Linked DNA regions of Homo sapiens: region 2 is linked to region 1. Evidence: promoter capture Hi-C in 16 types of primary human blood cells and fetal thymus (Javierre and others, 2016). All regions are on one chromosome and are shown on one strand. The core of a region is centred on a gene start or on the middle of the fragment in contact, and the rest is flanking DNA. Distances in the headings are between cores, read along the strand shown.

The links. The method cuts DNA at HindIII sites, captures the fragments that hold promoters and counts their contacts. A CHiCAGO score of 5 or more calls a contact.
Region 2: a contact is called between a fragment that was not itself captured here and the fragment with the promoter of SEC62 in region 1, in 3 of 17 cell types (fetal thymus, naive CD8 T cells and total CD8 T cells). The highest score is 14.2, in fetal thymus.

Annotation. Positions count from the first base shown.
Region 1 is chr3:169,963,400-169,968,130 of GRCh38, forward strand. SEC62 (SEC62 preprotein translocation factor) reads left to right here and starts at 3,408. Exons shown (of 8, transcript NM_003262.4): 1 at 3,408-3,459. The coding sequence starts at 3,424. It also overlaps the pseudogene FHL1P1. RefSeq lists an enhancer at 3,087-3,526. The HindIII fragment of the contact is 8,040 bases long and covers 1-4,068 here.
Region 2 is chr3:172,748,046-172,752,741 of GRCh38, forward strand. It overlaps ECT2 (epithelial cell transforming 2), which reads left to right and starts at 2,681. Exons shown (of 25, transcript NM_001258315.2): 1 at 2,681-2,812. RefSeq lists enhancers at 2,217-2,486, 2,587-2,636, 2,657-2,916 and a silencer at 3,027-3,096. The HindIII fragment of the contact is 750 bases long and covers 1,271-2,020 here.

The sequences.
Region 1 (4,731 bases), core at 2,158-4,657:
CTTGTGTTTTACAGTCTGTTCTCTTCTTCCCAAAATATAAGCTCCACAAGAGCAGGATGTTTGCCTCTTGAACACTAGTATATCCTCAGTGTCTAGAACAAGGACTGGCACATAATAAGCCCTCAATAAACATTTGTTTAATGAATGAATAAATATAACTCATTTCCTCAAAAATCTCCAGTAAAGTCTCTTGTAACTAATAGTTTTGCTTTGGCAAAAGAAAGAACAGGGGCCAGGTGCAGTGGCTCATGCCTGTAGTCACAGCACTTTGAGAAGCTAAGGCAGGCAGACTGCTTGAGCCCAGGAGTTAGAAACCAGCCTGGGCAACATGGAGAAACCTGTCTTTACAAAAAATTAAAAAATTTAGTTGGGTGTGGTGGCACGACCTGTGGTCCCAGCTATTCAGGAGGCTGAGGTGGGAGAATCCCTTGAGCCCAGGAGGCGGAGGTTGCAGTGAGCCGAGATCGCACCACTGCACTCCTACCTAGGCGACAGAGCAAGACCCTGTCTTCAACAACAACAACAATAACAAAAAATACTCCTCGTTTGGGAGAGAAATAACTGTCAAATAATAAGAGTAAAATTGGAAATTCAAAAGTAAGTTGGAACTAGAAGTGGCTAGGGGAAACTCCTTACTGCCACCATCAATAATATAGATGGTGTGCTGGGAAAAGGATTTGAGCTATTTTTATATAAATATTTTTATATAAATATTAAATGGAAAGGAGACCCAGAAATTTGACCCATAAATCTGAGGTTATATGTGTGAACATTAGCCATCATTCATGCTGCTACACACAACAGGGAGTCATGGAAGGAAGAAGGTCTGGAGTGTAAAGAGCATAGAAGTGAGGAGAACAATTAAAAGGCCATTGCAATACTAGTTCACGTAGGTGATGATAAGGACTTGAACAAGGCAATGGTAATGGGAATGATAAGGGAGGGAAGAATTCCAAATATCTCAGCTGTAGAATCAACAGGATTGGTGACTGACTGGCAGAAAGGCATGGTTGGGATGCATCCAAGGTTTCTAGCATGAGTAATTGAGTGAACAACGATGTAGTTATTAGATTTTTACAGTAAAAGGGGCAGGTTTTGCTGGGGAAATGGTGATTTTTAGTTGGACATCCAGTGGAAACATCCAGAAGAAATCTGGAATTAAACATGAATGCAGTATTTTGGAATTAATCTGTAAACAGAATGCACAAATAGAAGAGACAAGAGGAAGGTGAACATATAAAAACGGTGGCCAGGAACATGTGAGAATTGGGTAAAAGGAGAGAAGTCAACGAGAAATCAGAAAGAAGTTGATATACATGCCAAAGAAGGAAAAGAAGTCAAGAAGAACAGTCAATATTGTCAAATACTGAGTAAGATGCCAGCTGAGAGAAGGTATTGGGTTTGACAAAATAATTGTTACTGGATGGTGGAGGTAGAAACCAAATTGTTGTAATCTAAGGAGTGAATGACAGAACAAGAGGACACTAAATTAAAGCTCTGCTGATGAAGAAAATAGTAAGGCAGTAACTTGAGGATGAGTCATTGTCTATAAAGGATTTTTATTCCCCACCATAGTCCTAACCTAACATTTGACATCTATCTAGTAGGCACTCAATACCTACTGAATGCAATAATATTTTCATTTATAGACCAGGTCTCCTATAAAATAGTCCAGTGTTTATGTCCACATAAAACAGCACAAAACAGATTCATCATTCTGGGTGGGTAGAGGGATTGAAGGAAATAAAGACATTTCATATTCTATATTATGTTTTGGGTTAATTGGCAAGAATAATTACTTCTTTCTCACCCCATCCCTGACTATACACACACCCAAATTATAGATTATAGAGGAGAAAGGAATTAAATGACTCCTGAGACCAGAACTGCATAGTCCAAAAAAAAAAAAAAAATTCAGCAATCTTACTTTATTAAAAAATTAGGCATCAAGATGCTGCAATTTGCCTTACTTACATATTTAATTGCTCTTAGGTTAGATATATAATATGGGAAACCTGGAAAAAAATTTTAATGGTATAATAAACGCTTACAACCTAACATTAAGTGAAAAAAGCAGCTGCCTTATTGCATATGATCTCAATTTGGGAAACAGGAAAAAATATAAATACAAACACACATGCACACACACACACAAAGTCAGAATACTATAAGAAAATAAACTGAACGGTCACAGTGGCTCACGCCTGTAGTTCCAGTTACTCAGGAGACAGAGACAGGTGGATCGTTTTGAGCCCAGGAGTTCAAGACCCGCCCGGGCAACATAAGGAAACTCCATCTCCACACAAAAAAAGTAAAAATTAGCCAGGTGTGGTGGCTCATGCCTGTAGTTCCAGCTACTCAGGAGGCTGAGGAGGGAGATCAGTTGAGACGAGGAGTTCGGTGATGCAGTGAGCCGAGACTGCGCCACTGCACTCCAGCTTGGGCAATATAGAGCGAAACTCAGCATCAAAAAAAAAAGAACATCTTTCTATTCTGAATTTTCCCAATTTTCTACAATTAAAAACGCTTTAAAGATCTCTATAAAGTCAGTCAAGGGAATTTCTATCTAAGCACTTACCAGCAATTTGAGCTCCTTCTCTTTTGGTCTAGGTGGCTCTAAAATAACAATAAAGGCTACAGTGATTGAAATTCACCAGACTTGAAATAGACTGCAGCCTTCTTCCTTCCCACCTTCTTAGAATCTTTGTCCTATTCATCTTCCTTACGCTTCCCCGGGTTCTCTTACTTCTGGATTCTAACAGTGAGTTGTGAGAAGCAACGCGGAAAACGGAATGGAGACTCCAGCTTGTTTTAAACGAGCTGTATTACCCCGCACAGTGCAGGAGAAAAGATAATTGGCTCAGGTCTCGGCTCTGCCATCTACCACCTGTGGAGCCTTAGATAAGTCAGTTCTTATCTCTGTCACTCAACGGTCTCGGTCTTGTCATCTTTTACATGGAATGTCATGAAATATACAGTACATTGCAGGAACTGCCTCAGGTAAAGACTTCTAGGGTTCAGTAGGTCTCAGTCGATCCCTCTGAGAAAGGCCGCACCCTAAATGCACAGACTCTGACTCTAAGGGGATGGGGTCGGGGAATCTGCATTTTAGTAGCTTCTCAGGTGATTCAGATGCTCAGTCAGGATTGAGAAACCAGGACTCTTCCCAGCCCTCCTGTTCTCTGATCCACTTCTCTGCTTCCTCCACGTCCTAACGATTCTCCAGTTCCCGCACAGCAGGAGCGGAGGGAAGAGGGGAGAGAAGGCACCGCTAAGGACCGCTGGCCCCGCCAGGCGGCCGACCTCCCCATTCCAGGGGCGCCAGCCGGCGGATTACATAACGGGCCTCGGGGCGCGTTCTCGCGAGGTTTCCACCGCCCCCTCCTCGCTCCACGTCAGAGGGAACCGGGCGGAGCGGCCAACATGGCGGAACGCAGGAGACACAAGAAGCGGATCCAGGTAGCAAAGCCGAGCTCTGGGCAGGGGGCTTCGGCGCGCTGGATAGTGGAAGGGGCGGGGAAAGCCCCCTAAAAGGGCGAGCGAAAGCAAGGGCGAGGTGGGGTGGGGTGGGGTGGGGTTCCGCCGCGAGGCAGCTGGCTGCAGGCTGCGCGTTGTGAGGGGCCTGAGGGGGGGCGGTGTTGGCGACGGCGGAGACAGAGACGGAGGTGGTGGTGGAGCAGCAGGGGAAGGAAGGAGGCGCCGCGCTCAGAATCCGGCTGCGGAGGCGCGGCTGTGGGCCTGGAGTTCCTGTGGTCGCGCTGTCCCGGGCCTGAGCTGGAAGGTCAGCCTCCCCTGGGGCGCAGACGCTGACCCTTCCCGGGGCTCCTCCCCTCCCTTCACCCCATCCTCTGGCCTTAGCTGGCCTGAAATTAAGGCCACGGTAATAGGGGTAGCAGGAGGCGGCGGACTGACCTAAAGCAGCTGGTTCTTTGTGCGCATAGACCGTAAGGGGGAATGATCTGGACTTGGTCAGCTGCCTCGGGGCCTAGGCAGGGATCTGCTCATCCAGATGTTCAGTTGCGTTGCCCTTCTTTCCCTTCAATATTATTAACTTAATAGTCCACTTGAAGCTTGCCGGCTTTTTTCCGGGCGACGTGGTGTAAACAACCACAACCTCGTTGGTGCTGCAACGAGCTGGTGGAGCCCAGAAACCTTTCACATGCCAGTGTGTCATCCTCGTAGTAACGTACATAACATCTCCCCCTAATTCCACATGCGTGTCATTTGTGCATTTCTTCCTTGCGATTTTCCCTGGTTCTTGTTCTTTGCCAAGAGGATTAATTATGTAGAACATCTTGGACTCAGGATATTTATTAGTCGTCTCATCAGCTGATGTGCTGAGAAACCTTCATAAGCCCTCAAATTGATCACATGTAGTAAATTGTTACTATAATCATAAATTGTTACATTCATCATTGCCTTTCTGTTCCTTACTATTTCATTGCTTAGAATGATTTTTTCTTTCTTCCATTTTATCCCTTCTTTTTTTTTTTAAGTTTATCGATTTATTGGCGTACAATACAGATGTTTTGAGCTATGCAAGTTAAAATTCTTCTGTAAACTTTTTAAGTGCTGTGAAAAAGACACACATGATCAGTAAATTTGGAATTTTGGAATTTGGCAGAAATAAAGTAGTTCCGAACAGGGTGCAGAAGGGAATTAGAAAGAGGCAGATTTCGAGTTCAGACAGATAAGACTAGGTCTTAAGATCAGTAGAAGTTTCTAATTATA
Region 2 (4,696 bases), core at 396-2,895, 2.8 Mb after region 1:
ATTATAGGCATGAGCCCCCACACCTAGCCTAACCTAGCGTATGTCAGTTGTCTTCCACTGTCCTCTTCATGTATATTATGATCCAGCCACACCAAACTGTTTACTGTCTCCTATATATATTGAGCTTTTATGAGAGCCTAAAGTGCACGTAAACAAGCTAATATTAAGAATTTATGTTTTTAAAAAAGTTCAAGGTTAATATGCCATTCAGTTCAATTGCCTATGCCGTATATAGTATTTAAAAATTTTTCATAATGCTGATCTTGAAACACTATAGCACTTGAAACAGCTTCTGACTCAGTAAGACTAAGTTACTTGTATCATTGTTTTGTAGGTATTTGAATTCTGTGAAAACCTATGCATGCAATAAATTTTTCACCGCAAATACAGCTATCTGCTAGAAGTGCCATGAGAACAAGGCCCATATTTGTCTTGTCACACCTATATTCTCAGTGCTAGCATAGTACCTAATGGGTGCTTAATAGTTATTAAATGAATAAACTATGATTAGGTTAATCAGGACATCCAGTCTCTCAAACATTATGAATGAACTTGGATCTAGCTCATTCACTCTCGAAATATTTATTTGGTACCTACATGTGAAGATTCCTGTGTTTATTAGAGAGCAATGTGTAACATTTGCCTTTGCAGTACTAGCTTTTTGAAAATACCTGAAGATGAGGGATCATGTTTTACTTTACCAGACACCAGCCCTCTGCTAGGTGCAATTAAGTGGCATATGATCACCTATGCACACGATTATCTGAAATACTCCTCTCCACATTGCTTTCTTTGAGCCTGCAGACAGATCTATACTAGACTTTATTTACACTCATCTATTATTTCTGGGTTCTAATGCGGGCTAAAATATTTATTAGGAGACACTGGGTAAGTTACTTAAACCTTTCCTACAGTTTCATGGTATCATGGGACTATGATACCTACTTGTGGGTTGTTTTAAGGATTAAATAAGGTATAAAGTGCATAGTAAAGTATCAGTATGTTCATTCTCTTTCTTCTCTCCCTTATACTGTAATTATCTGTTTATCTGCTAATTTCCCTCACCAGATTGTGTGGTCCAGACAGGCAGTTTTCTATGCCTTATTCATCTTTATAACCCCAACAAGCACAATGGCTGTCTTAAAATTAGTAAATATTTGCTGAGTAAATGAAGACCTAAGAGAGTGAAAAAGGTTGTATTACCCGTTTATTTGTTAATCTAACTGCCACACATCCCTTAAAAGAAATCAAGTACAGCTTTTGTTAGGGAAGCTTAAAATTCATGGCAATGATACCATACACAGTTAATCATTAGCTTTGGAAAGTCTGTTGAGCAGAAAGCGGTGCACAAAGGAAGTAGGGCTGCTTCCCACAATAGCTTAATATGTTTTCAGTGATGAACGTTTTTGGAATGCTGGGCACACCCGACTTCCAAATACGCAAGCACATTCCAAATGGAAATTTCAATTACTGTTTTTCTTTTTTTCTGCCGTAACAGTTATCACAGCATTTTAATGAAGGTCAGACTTAAATACTGACAAGCAGGGAAACCAATAATTACCAGATTGCTTCATTCATTTTGTGGACAGCATTATAAACTTTTCAGGCATTCTAAGATTGCCTGACAAAATTAGAAAAAATTGTTAAGTCCCCACAACCTGCTTGAGATGCTCACAAGTGTTCCATCCCAAAGTACACGTTTGCCTCTTCTTATTGGTATTTAGGTTCTGGCATCTGATTCCCCTTTCTTCTTCTATTTATATTAGCCTTCAGGTGGGAACTATGGAAAACCCACCTGGTGGGGGTGTATTTTTCTTAAGAGATTGTGTTATATGGTATCATATTTAGAAAATAAAGAAATTATTTTCATAATAGCAACGCTAATCACAGGAAAAACTTGATACATTCTTGACTAGACTTTAGGGGAAAGTACAAGTTCTTAGTGGGCGGAGGGGGGCAAAGACGAAGCAATTTGGCTCCAAAAATTCTAGAATCTCGTGGCATATTTTTATCAAATTCAAGCTTATCTTTAAAAAAATCCGAGAATTTTTCTAATTTCTAAGAATTGATTCTAACCCGCGATACTCCCTAGATGGGAGCGCAGTGCTTTAAATAATAGCATTTAAATAAGCGGCTGCTGATTTGAAGTCCACCTGGGGAGTCCGAGTTCTAGGACCGGTCCTTGGCCCTGCCACACGCCAATACAACCATCAAAGTCAAAATCCCTTAACTCAAATTTAAATACATTCCTAAAGCAGAAAGCATCCCGATAGGAAAATCCTACAGCTCACAGCAAGCAGCAGGGAAACATTTATCTCTGGCGGCACTGATTTAAGCTTAAAAGATTTGGTATCGTTTAAAAAAAAAAAAAAGCTGGGTGGGGCCGAGGAGAATCCACCCAAACTTTCCTCAGGAAGTAGGATGTTTACTGAGTAAATATGCGGTAGTCACAGAAACACCTGCTACTCCTTTAAGACCTCAGGAGCCACCACCGCCACCTCCTGGCCACATCCGGGCACTTCTCTGCAAACTCCTGGCGTCCCGACGCCCGAGTCGTTGGGCTTATTTGAAACACACGCACAACCAATCAAGCGGCGCCTGCCGGGACTTGGAGAGCGTCGACCAATCACCGCCCCTCTGGAGACTCCTGCCTATGGGAAAGAGGTTGACATCACGCGCCAATCGGCATGGCTCTTAGAGAGAGCAGCTTAGTTTTTGAATCGGTTGTGGCGGCCGCCGGCGAGGAATGGCGGTATTTGTGAGAGGAGTCGGCGTTTGAAGAGGTGGAACTCCTAGGGCTTTTTTGAGAGTGGTAAGGACTCTGTGTGAGTGAGAGAGGTGCAAGTGGGCGAGCGGCTCCAGAGCCAAGGGCTCTTTTGCCTGCGGTCGACGTCCCCGCCCCTAGTGACCGCGAATTCCGGAGCGCCCCAGCTCAGGCTTCCCGGATCCGGGAACTCCCTCGCCGCACCCCACCCCCAGCAGCCGGGCCCTGACGCGGAGTGGGAGACCGAAGCCCCCAGTATTGCTGGGCATCTTCGCCCTCACCTGTTGGCTCTTTTGGACAGAAGAGTGTGGGTGAAGGGAGGGAGTTGGGAAAGGGATTTTGGCAAGCCGCGCAGCCCTGTGGCTTTGGGGGCCGGCACTTGCAGCCTTTGGGGGCTTATCTCAGAGTGCGCCGTGGTTTTATTCTAGGATTCATCCTGGCTTCTTTGCGGGAAGTTTAATTTTTCGTTTTTGCAAGATAAATCCAGGCCATCCGCCCCTCGTCCTCCCCAGCCACCCGGCACAGATGTGTCCGGCTTAGTGGTTAAAGGCGCAGCCTCTGGATTTAGCCGGGCTTTGAATACCTCTTTTACCCCTTACTAACAGTTTGACTTAGGGGAAGTTGCTTAACCTCTCTGTTCCTACGTTTCTTCATCCATACATTGAAAATAATAATAGTACCTGCCTCTTAGGATTACTGCAGAGATTAAAAGGTTTAGGACAATGTCTGCCACGTATTAAGCGTTAAGTAAATGTCAGTTGTTAATAGTAATGTTATTGTTAATAACACCACCATTATATCTTGGATTGCATTTTAGTCCTTCACCTTGGAAGATGATTGCCTAAAAAGTATTTAAGTAAAAGGAAACTTGAATGTTTGTTTACATGGCAAATTTTATCTCTGGGATAAAAGGGGGCATGTGTTATAGTGTGTTTAGTTAGAAGCTCCTTGGGTCTGTTCTTGGGTGAGAAGCTGTGTAGGTTTATGAACACTGATCCTATTGTGCTTATTTTAAAGGCTTCTGGAATACAGTAATTTGAAAAAAAGTGATTAATATATTTCCATTTCTAATCTGACTGTTGGATGTTAGTTATGTCATCAAGTTACCGTAGTGCATCTCTTTTTCTCTATACATTTTGAAGCTGTTTTGGCAATAAATTGATCATATACAGTATCATCAGGGGCAATTTTAATTATTAATCATCTGCTTTCGATCATCTGCTATGCTCCCTCCCTTTTATTAATCATCTGCTTTTGATCATTTGCTGTGCTCCCTCTTAAAGAGGGAGGCATAGGAGAAAAATGTAAATATTTTCAAGAAGTTTTTTTTTTTTTTTTAGACGGAGTCTACCTCTTGTTACCTAGACTGGAGTGCAGTGGCACGATCTCGGCTCACTGCAACCTCTGCCTCCCGGGTTCAAGCGATTCTCCTGCCTCAGCCTCCTGAGTAGCTGGGATTACAGGTGCCTGCCACCAAGCCCAGCTAATTTTTGTATTTTTAGTAGAGACGGGGTTTCATTGTGTTGGCCAGGCTGGTCTCGAACTCCTGACCTCGTGATCCGCCCGCCTTGGCCTCCCAAAGTGCTAGGATTACAAGTGTGAGCCACCGCGTCCGGCCTTTCAAATGGTATTTTTGATTTTCCTCTTCCAGTCCTTAAAGCAGGTTAGCTCATCTCCTGACTTTTTTTTTTTTTTAAACATTCTTTTAAGGGGACTTTGAATGAAAGCCACTTTAATGCCTTTTCATTGGAAATGGTTGAGTGTAGAAGACTTAAAATAATAGGGCTGGATAGAATTTATCATTGATTCTAAATTAAGGCTGTTACAACTATTGGACCGCTCCTTTGGAGAGCCTTAGAATAATGATTGACATGGATGTATGGTAAAGCCATAAGAAATATCCATATTGTGAATATTACATGAGAATAGTTG